3 separate regions of the Homo sapiens genome follow, and regions 2 and 3 are each linked to region 1. Evidence: promoter capture Hi-C in 16 types of primary human blood cells and fetal thymus (Javierre and others, 2016). All regions are on one chromosome and are shown on one strand. Each heading gives the region's core, a stretch centred on a gene start or on the middle of the fragment in contact. The rest is flanking DNA. Distances are from core to core; before and after follow the strand shown. Region 1 holds the start of PCMTD1 (protein-L-isoaspartate (D-aspartate) O-methyltransferase domain containing 1). Region 2 overlaps BPNT2 (3'(2'), 5'-bisphosphate nucleotidase 2). Region 3 holds the start of THAP1 (THAP domain containing 1).

What was found. The method cuts DNA at HindIII sites, captures the fragments that hold promoters and counts their contacts. A CHiCAGO score of 5 or more calls a contact.
Region 2: a fragment that was not itself captured here is called in contact with the fragment with the promoter of PCMTD1 in region 1 in 1 of 17 cell types (activated CD4 T cells); the score reaches 5.5 in activated CD4 T cells.
Region 3: the fragment with the promoter of THAP1 here is called in contact with the fragment with the promoter of PCMTD1 in region 1 in 1 of 17 cell types (total CD8 T cells); the score reaches 9.3 in total CD8 T cells.

Annotation. Positions count from the first base shown.
Region 1 is chr8:51,896,012-51,900,481 of GRCh38, forward strand. PCMTD1 (protein-L-isoaspartate (D-aspartate) O-methyltransferase domain containing 1) reads right to left here and starts at 3,025. Exons shown (of 6, transcript NM_052937.4): 1 at 2,919-3,025. It overlaps PCMTD1-DT (PCMTD1 divergent transcript), which reads left to right and starts at 3,304. Exons shown (of 4, transcript NR_189279.1): 1 at 3,304-3,835. RefSeq lists a silencer at 2,532-3,221 and enhancers at 3,262-3,551, 3,722-3,781, 4,082-4,141. The HindIII fragment of the contact is 4,691 bases long and covers 1-4,470 here.
Region 2 is chr8:56,988,555-56,992,583 of GRCh38, forward strand. All of the region lies in intron 1 of BPNT2 (3'(2'), 5'-bisphosphate nucleotidase 2), which reads right to left. Among named protein-coding and RNA genes, the nearest start is that of BPNT2, 3.3 kb to the right of the region's middle. The HindIII fragment of the contact is 1,224 bases long and covers 1,572-2,795 here.
Region 3 is chr8:42,841,320-42,845,395 of GRCh38, forward strand. It overlaps THAP1 (THAP domain containing 1), which reads right to left and starts at 2,006. Exons shown (of 3, transcript NM_018105.3): 1 at 1,705-2,006. The coding sequence starts at 1,775. It overlaps LOC124901940 (a long non-coding RNA gene), which reads left to right and starts at 1,615. Exons shown (of 2, transcript XR_007060901.1): 1 at 1,615-2,064; 2 at 2,448-4,076. RefSeq lists enhancers at 1,599-2,389, 1,725-2,084 and a silencer at 1,605-1,694. The HindIII fragment of the contact is 1,565 bases long and covers 1,201-2,765 here.

The DNA.
Region 1 (4,470 bases), core at 1,775-4,274:
CTTGGCTCACTGCAACCTCTGACTCGCAGGTTCAAGCGACTCTCCTGCCTCAGCCTCCCGAGTAGCTGGGATTACAGATGCCCACCACCAAGCTCGGCTAATTTTTGTATTTTTAGTAGAGACGGGGTTTTGCCATGTTGGCCAGGCTGGACTCGAACTCCTGACCTCAGGCGATCCACCTGCCTCAGCCTCCCAAAGTGCTAGGATTACAGGCGTGAGCCACTGCCCCCGGCCGCCACATTTCTTCCAACTATGTAGTTGCCACATCTAGTGGAAAATGAAAAAAGATTAATAAACCATATTATGACACCCTATTGTCTGTCATTATGCATTTTAAGTGACTACCAAATATTTTAAAATACCAATAATTACATAAGTAAATTTTAATCCTTTTAGACTTTTTTAGGGCCCTCTTGGTATTCTTTCCAGCACACTAATTTACAAAAAAGTTCAACTACGTTCATAAAAATGTTTACTGATATGAGACTATCCTTCCGAGTTTGTAAGCAATACGCAGCTGTGAGAGCTACAATTTACAATAACATCCCAATTTACCATGGCACCCAGCAGTGTCTAAAGTAACACAAATCCCCATCTTCTTGGTTAACAGCATAAGATCAAGGAGTTTAAAATTTTAGTAATATGCCACCAGAAACCTCATCTAAAAAAATACCATTATAGTTTCACACTATATTCTCTAGACTATTTTAAATGCATGTGATTACATTCATGTAGTTATTCTGTAAGGAACATTTCAAAGAAAGCAGAAAAAACCGTAAGGGCAACAATTTTTCGTTCATAGGAGGTAAAACAAGAGCAGAAAACACAGGTTCTTGGATTAAGCACTCCTGAATATAAACACGCACTATTACAAAAAAAAAAAAAAAGCAATGGGATCTTGAGCAGTTCTTTTACTCAAAGCCTCTATTTATTACTCTATAGAATGAGAAGAATGTCATTTATGTTGTTATGAGAAATATATGAGCATATTATTACCAAAAATAACTAAAATGTCATGGATTTTTTTATTCCTTTCGAGCACAGTTTCCAAATCATAAAATACTACACAATTTGGCTTAAAATTTCAGGCTATGCATGTTTAGAACCAGACGTTGTTCGTGATTATCTTCCTCAGTTGTTCTTTCCCTGGAAGCTAGCACCAAGATGAACACAGTACATTTTTAATAAATACAAGCTAGTGATTAAATCAACAAAGCCTCCAGCTCTTCTGCACACAGAAATACAGTATGCAATGGGAATTTCCTAGCTTTCTGTCTTACTTAATAGTAGGCAGTGTAGTATCACCCCTCCACTTCCAGTTTACTCCCTATAGCTTACTTACCAAAATATTTAATCCCTGTTGCTTTTTTTTTCTTGTCTCAGGCTAGGGCCACTAGCTTTCTATCTTTCCTACCTTACCTTTCCTTCACATATTAGCTACTTCATGTTAAAGAAATTACAAGTGTTCAACTGACCATATGGAATTAAAATTTACTTAGAAAAAAATGAAATAAAAAAAACCAAAAAGTAAACTAATTCAGCAACTTTATGTTTTATGGAGTCATCTAGCCTCATGTAAACTACCATTAAGCAATACGTAAACATATTAATCTGCTTAATACGAAAGTAATGTCGTCTGGCCGCAGACATTCTGAAAGTTTTGCCACATTGTTTCAAAATATTGGCTTGTAGCCCTTTTCAAAGCTACTGATTATTGAAAACTTGGCGACCATGTTTAACAATGAAGAAAAGGCTTCCCCAAGCCTACGTAGATTGGATTCTCTAATACATAGTAATAATGTTTTTTAAAATAATGAGGTGTGTAATAAAATGGAGGAATATCCATGATGCATTGTTGGCTAATAAAACGATATACTGTACTATATATGATCCCAATCTTGTTTCTAAAGCACACTCATTAAATGCACAGAAAAAAAAAATCCTGAATAACTACCCACCACACTTGGAGACTGGCTACCCTGGGTAGTAAGAAGGAGAAATATGGGGGGAAGGGCGCGAGAGAGGGCAGGTTTCCTCATTGTTTGGCTGCTTCATGTTTTTCTCAAGGAGCAAGCAGTACTTTTGTAATTAAAAAAATAAATAGGGGAAAAACACTGCTAAAAGCATACTTTTTTCCTCCGTAGCAAATTCTTCTGATTTGTAATGTTAAAAATATATCTCTGGTTTCTCGATTCTAAAAAGAGGACACACGAAAACAAAATTATAGAAGTTCCAAAAAATCTTGGATTTGCAAAATTACTCCCTCGGGTTCTGCCCGTGGGTCCTCCCCATGCCGGTGTCTGAAATTCCCCAAGCAAAACGCGGGCACTGCACTTCCCCGGAACGGTAGTAGACGCTCAAAAACACAAAAAGAGGCCTTGGCGCCTGCTATAACCTCTCAGTCCCCTCCCAGCCCCCGAGACTTCCCCGAGTCTACGTAGACTGGATTCTCTGCCTCCAAAACCAAAACAGAAGTCACTGGGCGGATCCAAAACGGCCCTAAGGGGCCCGCGGGCATCTCAAGACGCCAGCCTCGGGACTCTGGTCCCCAAGCCCAGGTCAGAGCCGAGGACGAGCCGAGGACGGGCCGAGGACGCGGCGCCCCGGCCTCCCTCGGGCCCCCGACCTCCCCGGCCCCAGGGACCCCGGCTCCCGACCTCCAGGCTTCGCTGGGCCCCTTTCGACTCCCCGACCTCCCAAGTCCTCCGCCCCCGGCCCGTCCTTCCCCCAACCTGCCCCGCAGCGCCTCAGTTTCCTGGCCCCCGACCTGCCCGCCCTTAAGTCCCCCTGCCCCCGACTCTTCGGCTGCCGTCCCCCTGGCCCTCTGGCCTCCAAGCGCATCCCAGTCGCCCGCCCGGCCCTAGCACGCGGGACTCGCACACCCCACGACCCCGAGCCCCCACTGGCGGCGGCGTTACCTGTGGCGCGGGCAGCGGCGCGCAGGCCAGGCGCTAGGACTCGGCGGGGTCCGCAGCAGCCAGACGCCGCTACCACCACAATAACAACACGGACGCCACCGCCGAGTGGAGAGGCGGGGCCCGGACCCGCGACTGGAGCAGCCAGAGCCTCCCGGACTCCGGAGCCGCCGGGGTCCGGGCATGCGCAGAGAACCACGGGCACAGGGGCAGCTCCCCGCGGACGCCAAAGTCAACAAGGCCGGGAGACGCCCCCATCTGGCCCCGCCCCCCTCAGGGCTCGCTCCGCCCCCAAGCCCAAACAACGCGAGGCCTTGACAGGCCAGAAGACGATGGCGGTAGGGGAGATCACGCGAGAGCATGGCCTCCACCTCTCCTCCCCACCGCCATCTCCACGTTCTCGCACCGGCGCTGGGGTGCAGGCTTTCAGTGGTCTCAGGGCTACGGCTTGTCGGTGCCTCGCCGCACAGTCCCCTTTGCATTGAAGGACACGGTCTTACGGTGTAGGAGCATTTTTGAGGTGCATTCCTGGATTTGGAGGCGAACCCCCAATGGTTACCTCCACAGAGGCTTTGCGAAGGGCGCTCACTGACTTAGGTGAAGAGCGAAGGCTCAAGACTGTGCCGCTTTATAGTGGCCCCTTGACGTCCAGAAGTTCCCCCCAGCGCCGGTCATAAGCACTCCCGCCGCCTGGGCCCCGCCCTGCCTGCCAGGCGCCCTCCAGCCTCAGCTCCCGGACGCCCGGCGTGGCCGCTTTCTCGCGTCTTGCTGACCCGGGCCGGGGGCGTGTGCTCCTCCTGCAGCGGACGGAAGATGCTGGGCCACGCAAGTTTCCCTGGGCTTGGTTAACCACCCCAAAGCCCATTTCCAGAAGGAAAGGGTGTTGAGGAGGAGGGATAGAAAGTCGAGAAGAGGGCCGGGTGAGTGGCTCACGCCTGTCATCCCAGCACTTTGGGAGGCCGAGACAGGCGGATCACCTGAGGTCAGGACTTAGAGACCAGCCTGGCCTACATGGTGAAACCCCGTCTCTACTAAAAATACAAAAATTAGCCGGGTGTGGTGCCGTGCGCCTGTAGTCCCAGCAACTCGGGAGGCTGAGGTAGGAGAATCGCTTGAACCCGGGAGTCGGAGGTTGCAGTGCTGAGATGGCACCTGGCCTGGGCGGCAAGAGCGAAACTCCATCTCAAAAAAAAAAAGAAGAGGAAATGAGGCATAGGGGCAGGCGAGCCGGGAAAATATTGCTACTAAGGATCCTAAGCAGTGAACATGCTGTTAATACTTGTAAGACTCCTAGCAAACTGCATTTAATTTTTTAAATTAGTTTTAGTGTACATAAAGGCATGTCTTTTCCAAATACTGTACTTTTTGAAGTGTTCTTTGTTGTTCATTAATCTTTGTGCGTTTCCCTTCAGTCTCTAATAGTAGGTTGTAGCATGATTTGCTTCCATCGTGTGAATTCTGTTCGGTTTTGATTTTCAAGTATGAGAGTGAGCGTAAGCTACCCTTATAGGTTACCTAAGGTAAGTTAGAATTAGAACGTCTTTATGCTAGGGTT
Region 2 (4,029 bases), core at 934-3,433, 5.1 Mb after region 1:
TTGTTTTCAGTCTTCATTATCCTTGGTTCTAGGCCCTGATATTCCCCTTTCATGTTATATTCTCTCCCTAACCAATTCTGTCCACAACCAGTTTCAATTAACATCACAACACCGATGACTCGCAGATTTGTATTTTCAGTTCAGATGTTTCTTCAGACCTTCAGACTCATATATTCAACTGACTCTTTGACAGCTAACCTTGGACATATCAAAGGCATCTCTAACATAGCAAGTCTAAAATGGCATTCATAATCTGTCCTCCAACTTAACCACCACTCCCCTTCACCAGCAACAAAACCCCAATTGTGAAAGCTACAGAGGAGTTATTTTTGACATATCCCTAAAAATTCTTTCACTTCCTTCTACATCTATCTTCTCTACAACCATAACCCTAATTCAAAAGATATAAGCTCTCACCTGAAAAAGGGCCTCCTAACTGGTCTCCCTGTATTTACTTTGCTCCCCTCCAAACCATCCTCCAAGCAACTACTCTGAGTCCTTCCATTCATTTTTAACACTGTAGTTAAGAGTATACTTGTTACATCTGCTATACCGCCTTATATAGAGAATTAGACAGACCTGAGATGATTCTCTGACCATTATGTCAATCTCAGTGACTCTAAGATTATTCTCATGGTGAAACCCCGTCTCTACTAAAAATACAAAAAATTAGCTGGGCGTGGTGGCGGCACCTGTAGTCCCAGCTACTTGGGAGGCTGAGGCAGGAGAATGGCATGAACCTGGGAGGCAGAGCTTGCAGTGAGCTGAGATTGTGCCACTGCACTCCAGCCTGGGCGACAGAGCGAGACACCATCTTTAAAAAAAAAAAAAAAAAAAAATTCTAGCTGGACAATCTTTGGCAAATTATTTAGCCTCTCCAAGTCTTTATCTGAAAAACAGAGGCTGTAGTACTTAACCTCCTTTGTTGTTGTGAAGATAAAATTAATAATGTCATTAAGAAGTTTAATTCAATTTTTGTGGCTTGCAGAAGGCTATGCAAATGTTAGCTAGTAAAACAAGCTCAGCATAACTTCCCCACTGCTTGAGTCCTGGTCCTCATCTCTCCCATGGCCTGTTTTAACAGTCTCTAACTAGTTCCTATCTACCTCCAAATGCCCAAAGCCCAAAGTATGGCTTATTGCAGGCCTCAAGAAAAGTCAGCTAAATCTGGCCTTCTTTTAGTATTCTACTAGTAAACCATGGACTAGGTCCAAATTCCTTTGAGCTTGGAATATGACCTAGCCCCTACCTACCTTTCCAATCTCTTCCACAATAATTCTCCCAAGTGCATTTTACTCAAACTCATTAGATTACAAGAATTAGCTGTCCTACTATCTCTCTTGGGCCTGTTCCTTTGAACTAGATTCTTTTCCTCTGTTTTCAGTGCTTATGTCTACACCAATTACTAGTTATTCTGATTTTACAGAAGAGGAAACTATGGCTCAAAAAAGTTAAATGACTGGCCAGTACCACCTAGGCTGGTGACTGCACAACATGTCAATGCAAGTGCTCTGTGCACTATATTAGTGCTTCTCAAACTTTTCTGGGACATACTTCTGTTGAAAGAGAGAAGCTTAACTTCCATCTTATAGGTCAAGGAAGGCACAGACCCAAGTGGCTGCTACCAGCTTGGAGTACCATGCTTTACCTTCAAATAAGTCATTGTCAAAACTTTGAACAAATCAAGTTGAGGACAGGAGCCCCTCAAACAGACAGTCCCCTGTACATTAAATCAAAACTATAAATCTCAGTTTGTCTGTTCTGTGGCTGCAAACCCACTCCACAAAAGTATCTTCAGCCTTCATTTTCATTGTTACCTGCAAGGATAAAGAGACAGTGCCATACAAATGGCTGGAGTTACTATTACTTTGACACAATGAAGTCAAGCATTGCCAAAGTGTTTAGGAAGAGGAGACTAGCTGCCCAGAGGACTCTCTGGGATCTCTAACCTGAAGAAAACTGAAGACAAAAGGAAATCCAGGGAGCCTAGGTGAAATCTGAGTTTTGTTAGGATAGCACTCACTTCTCTGGAGTATGATTCCTCAACTTGGGCATCAATTGACAAATGGAGCAGATAATTCTTCGTCATAGGGGGCTGTCCTGTGCATTATAGGATGTTTACCCTCTACCTACTAGATGCCAGTAGCATCCCACCCCTGGTTGTGACAATCAAAAATGTCTTCCGACGTTGTCAAATGTCAGTTAGGGGACAAAACTGTCTCCAGTTGAGTGCTCTAGGATAACCCCTGGTATATCCTTTTACTGAGGAGTGAACATTACATACGAAAGCTCAGACTTCAGACTCTACATAGGAAAGTAGTGGGAGAAAACAGATCTTTCTACATTTACATAGGGCACTAGGATAAAAGAAAGAAGTATCTGTTGCTTCTCAATGGTCTTTTTCCACTAGGAAGTAAACTAAGTGGGATATAATTTAAGTTTCTTACCAAGAAATTTGGGGTGAGGCTTCAAAATTAACCAGGGATTTAAGACTGTACTTCTGGGCATTAGGAGAGGGGAAGGCAAAAAAGGAGAAAGACTCCTTTTAGGTTGATTCTCCACTTAGTTGGCTACAATATTTGGCCTCTAGCCTATAACACAGGGGTATAAGGAGATCGCTCAACATGACACCATCCCTACTTTGACACTGTATAAATGATCACAAACCTCTTCTATTCCTTCAGTCATGACCCAACATGAATACTACAGAAGCACATGCAAACATTCAAATAGTCACAAGAAAACAAGAAGTTGTTTTATATTAAGCCAGAGACTTCAACATCTGCAATTCCAAAAGCTTAGCTTTTATGTTAATAAAATGCAGCTCACTGCCCTTGGCAGCCATTCCCTTATTGTTTGCTAATAAATGAGAATGCACACACATACAGATGTGTTTTCAACATTTAAGATACTTTTGTTTTTACTTAAAAAAAGAAAAATCAACTCTGCTTGCTGTATTTCACTATTACTGCTTTTAAGCTTCTACAATTATAAGTTTTAAATAGCCTTCTAAAAATCTAGCTAAAATGTGGGATAGTTCATATAAGCTGGAGTGTCACGAGCCTCAGATTTCCCGTTTGTATAGTAGGCAGAAATAAAATTTACTTCTTAAAGTTGCTGTTAAGGATCAAATGAAGTCCTGTGTAGCCAGTATTTGGGCATGTAAAATATATTCAATAAATGGTTATTATTAGTACTGTTATAACCATTAAATAGCAACTTCTCTGAATCTCCTGTTTCCTCTATAAATTCTTGGGGAAGGAAACACGTATGTTTTGGAAAGGGGGTAAAATATTTCATAAACACACCTTACATCTAGATGCAAAAAAATTTAAGTATTATTTGTGATGATAAAAACAGAGTAGGGAAGAAGAAAAAGTGGAAATATTCTGTGTTTTAAGTAGAAATTTGAAAAAAAAAATTCTAACGTTAATTACATCTGGTATCCAGTAGCTCATGTTAGGAAATACAATGTTCCTTTCCACTGGAAAAAGAAAAAGACGAAAGAAAAGGGAGGAAGAGAGGAGAATAAAAAACAAAACCAAAGCAATATTATGATAGACTGGAAGAAGCCTTATGCAAAATACATAACTAAACAATGACAATATTCTCCTAACTCTTTCAAGATCAGCAGTAAAAGGTCAGTCACCTTCCAAAGAAGCCTGGGTTTGCACATCACTGTTTATCTAATAAAATTCCAGTGAAGACAATTTTTCTTCCCAGTAGCCAAAACTACAGTTAGGTGAGTTAAGATATACGTTAATAAGGTGCTGCTACGCTATGCTGAGCTCTTCCTCAACAAAATTTGCAGTTTCTGGAACTGCAAATTTTAAATATGCTTTATTCAACTCAATAGCAGCTCCAGTGAAATGATGAATTCAAAAAGTATTAATAACAAATCCAAAATGTCTGGATTTCCTTAAGAAAATGTCAACTCCCTTCCCAGAAACCTACCCAAAGAAAAGCCAAATGTTATTTAATTCTTATTCTCTGGAGTAAATATGGATCTTTAATCAAGGGCCAGGTAGG
Region 3 (4,076 bases), core at 756-3,255, 9.1 Mb before region 1:
GAGATGGAGTCTCACTCTGTTACCCAAGCTGGAGTGCAGGGCAAGATCTCAGCTCACTGCAACCTCCATATCCCAGGTTCAAGTGATTCCCCTACCTCAGCCTCCCAAGTAGCTAAGATTACAGGCGTACGCCTGTATTTTGTATTTTTAGTAGAGACGGGATTTTGCCATGTTGGCCAGGCTGGTCTCGAACTCCTGACGTCAGGTGATCCGCCCACCTTGGCCTCCCCAAGTGCTGGGAATTACAGGCATGAGCCATCGTGCCTCGACAAAAACAGTTATTTCCGACGTGTGAATACCCTCTTTAAACTAGTTTCCAGTGCCAATGAAACATTTTCCATAATTTTAGATTCCTTCTGCCAAGCCATCAGAAATGTGGGTGGGGAGCTGGGCATGTAATCCTGTTACCATCACCTGACCTTTCCCTACATTTAGAAAGAACATGTTTACAGAAATTCCAATTAAATCAAGAGATAATATTAGGATATCCTGAACTGAATCCTCTAAGTGTTCTATCCCCTTCTCCAAGGGGTAACATTATTACTCTGGAGACCTCTCTATGTTCTACACACTCTTATTTCTATAGGGTCCATCTCACATGATATCAAACATATTTAAAAAATGCATGGACACTCCCCTAGTAAACACAGATGGCCCCACAGCAAAAAAATAAATTAACTGAAAAGATATTTAACATTTTGCTTTTGTAATTATTTACCTAATTATAAAAGATAATTAGCTAATTACCTATGGCTAATCTGTATAGTTTACCCCTGGATCTGATTTCTTACCTATCATCTGCGTATAGCTGTCAGGAATTCTTGCAAAGAAAACTTAACATAAATGTAATTAAAATTTGTAAACAAATTCAGCTGAATGAAAATGTTATGTCACATTTTACAAGCGTTTATCATAAGTAATTACAACTCTGCACTTTTTTCCTATTTTCAAGAGAATATTTTTGATCCTATCACTTAACTGTGCTACCTACTGGATAAGACAGCTCTGAAAGCTGTGGGGCAGTTTCTTTCGAAAGAGCTTTCTCTATGCACAGGTAATGCCATAATAAATAAAGATCCGTGTGAGTCATTTTATTATGATCCATGTTGTAACTGTCCATATTATCATTATTGTGTGCTGAAAAGATAACGATTTATCTCGGCAGTACCTGAAGCTTTCTCCAAAATACAGGGTCCTTAAAGCTTAGTTCCTAGAGATTGGGGGCAAAAATTCTCCCTGATTTCCCAGCCAAAAAACCCTTAATTGCTACGATGCTGGCCTCCCATCCACGGCAAGGGCGAAAAGTAGTGATTTCTTCGTTTAAAGGCCTTTGTTTCTATTTTAAATTTACCCCTAAGACCATATTAAAACACCTGGCTGCTCTGTGACCCTGGTGGTGGCAAAACCCGCGCCACCCTAGGCATCGCCCGTGGGCTCCGAACGCGTCAACCCAGGCCGTGAGCGAAGCCTGCAACCAGGGCCTGTTCCAGGAGCGCGAGAAACGGCTGCCGCGGCGACGCGCGCCGAGAACGCGCGATCGGGCGGCGGTTCCCAGCGGGACGCGGTGGGAAACGCCCGACACGGCCGGCCCCAGACCCCACCCGCCCCTCGCGCGGACACGCGCCTGGCTCCGCCCCCGGCCCCGCCGGCCGCGCGCCCCCACCCCGGCTGAGACCGGCCCCGCGAGGCGCGCAGGGTCCTCACTTGTGGAAAGAAACGGGCTTGTCCTTGTCGTAGCGGTTCTTGCAGCCGTAGGCGGAGCAGGACTGCACCATCCTTCCGGTCCTCAGGCACTTCACTTCTGCCGCCGCAGAAGGCAGGGGAAGCTGTTCTCAGTGTCGCTGCGCTCGGTTGGATTCCCTCGCTTCTTTTGTAGCTTTGGCCAACAGTTACAGTGATGGTGGCCTCCCTCGGGGGTGACTAGTGTGCCCGTTTTGTTGTTTGCATTAGCAGAAGGACCACAGCCATCGCCCGTCTCCCATCTCCAAGATGGCGGAGGCAGCTTCAACCTCACCTCTCGCGAGGGGTGCGTCCCACTGTCTCTGATTAGCCCCGAGGTCAGAGGTAACGTTTCCTGGGAAGCTAACTATTGGCTGAGGCCAGGTGTTTCCGGCGGTGGCTTCAGAGTTGCCGAAGTGGGCGGAGCCCTGAGCTTCCGGCAGGCAGGAAGGAACTGCTTGTGGGGGGAGGAGGCGCGGCGGGAGGCCGGATTCCTGGGGCATCCTCCAGCCCCGGGCTGTTCCCGTGGGTTAATTGATGCGGACCTTTTCTGGGGCAGCTTACAGTAGGGAACAACTAGGGCCTCTTGGAGAACAGGTGTAAAGCCGAGGTCGTTGGCTGATTGCGCCCATTTCTTTAAAAGGGCGGACACAGATGGTGTATGATTAATAAAATTGTGGAACCTTTTCCCAGAGTGCTAATCTTTATCCCATTACCTGTGTCTTCAGGTATCACAAGTTTCTGTGAGAGCCAACGTGACAGATTTTTAGCAATGAAAAAAGACACACTCGCCAAATCATCTCAATTGCCAACGCAGAAGCGTTTTATATATATGTATGTATATGTATGTATATATGTGTGTATGTATATATGTGTGTGTGTATGTATATATATATATATATATGTAATTTTTTAAATAAATAGAGGCGTTGTCTCCCCACGTTGCCCAGGTCAGTCTGGAACTCGAGCTCAAGGGATCCTCCCATCTCGACCTCCCCATGGGTTGGGATTACAGGAGTTGAGCCACCAGGCTGTCCCTCCCCAGAAGCTTTTCTGAAGGCTCTCCATTGCTGTGATTTCCATGTGCTGTGTTGCAAATAGCGAACTGCTGCAGCAATTTTCACACCTGAGAGAGAATATGTTAGAGGGGTTCGAACTAGAGCGACTCTGTGTTGAGTGAGGGCTAGGAAAATGAGGCTGGGACTTGCTGGGCTGCATTCCCGGGAAGTTAGGTATTCCTAGCCTCTAGATGTGTATACCATTAAGGCAACAGATTGATAATGTTTACTACACAGACCCAGACTACCAAGTGTCCAGATATCCCGATATTTTGAGAACAGAAGCATTCCTAATTTTGCTTTAAAGATAATAATATTGGGCTGGGCACAGTGCCTCACGCCTGTAATCCCAGCACTTTGGAAGGCCGAGGCGGGCGGATCACTTGAGGTCAGGAGTTCAAGACTAGCCTGGTCAACATGGTGAAAACGTCTCTACTAAAAATACAAAAATTAACCGGGTGTGGTGGCACATGCCCTCGAATTTCAGCTACTCTGGAGGCTGAGGCAGGATAATCGCTTGAATCCGGGAGGCGGGGGTTGCAGTGAGCCGTGCTTGCACCACTGCACTCCAGCCTGGGCGACAGAGTAAGACTCTGTCTCATAAATAAAGATAATATCGATTCTTACATAATATAGTAATTAATCCTTTATCACAAACCCTTGTAGCAAAGCACATCTCCCCATGATCTTTTTTTATCCTATATATAAACTAAGTGTTGTACTTAGGGTGGACGCGTTCCTCCTCTTACTTTCGGGAATGCCCTACTCTGTCTGTGGAGTAGCTGTACTTTCACCACTTTACGTTCTTAATAAACTTGCTTTTGCTTTGTACTGTGGACTTGCCCTGAATTCTGTCTTGCGTGAGATCCAAGAACCCTGTCTTGGGGTCTGGATTGGGACCCCTTTCCTGTAACAGTTTTACTTCATTCCCTGCTCCTTTTCTTTATATAGATCTGAGCCAGGCAGACCTGGAGAGCGGACTGTTGAGTAATCCCTTGGCCCTTATTCTCTACCTTTCCTGCCCTTTTAAATGTTGCTGTTTCCCCAGGGTTCCATCTTCTGCCCTCCTCTAACTCCTAAACACCCTGCTCCTTAAACTGAACCAAATACCATAATTCTCTCATCTTTTATTTCCTTTGTATATCCGTTCTGCCTTTGGGATTATCATCTGTGAATTATCATCTGTGAATTATCTGTTCAACAGTTGTCTAAACCAGAAACCTTGGAGTCATCTTGGATTTTTTTTGTCACCCATAAAACCCGTTGATGACCAGGTTAATTTTGTAGACTAAATAAATA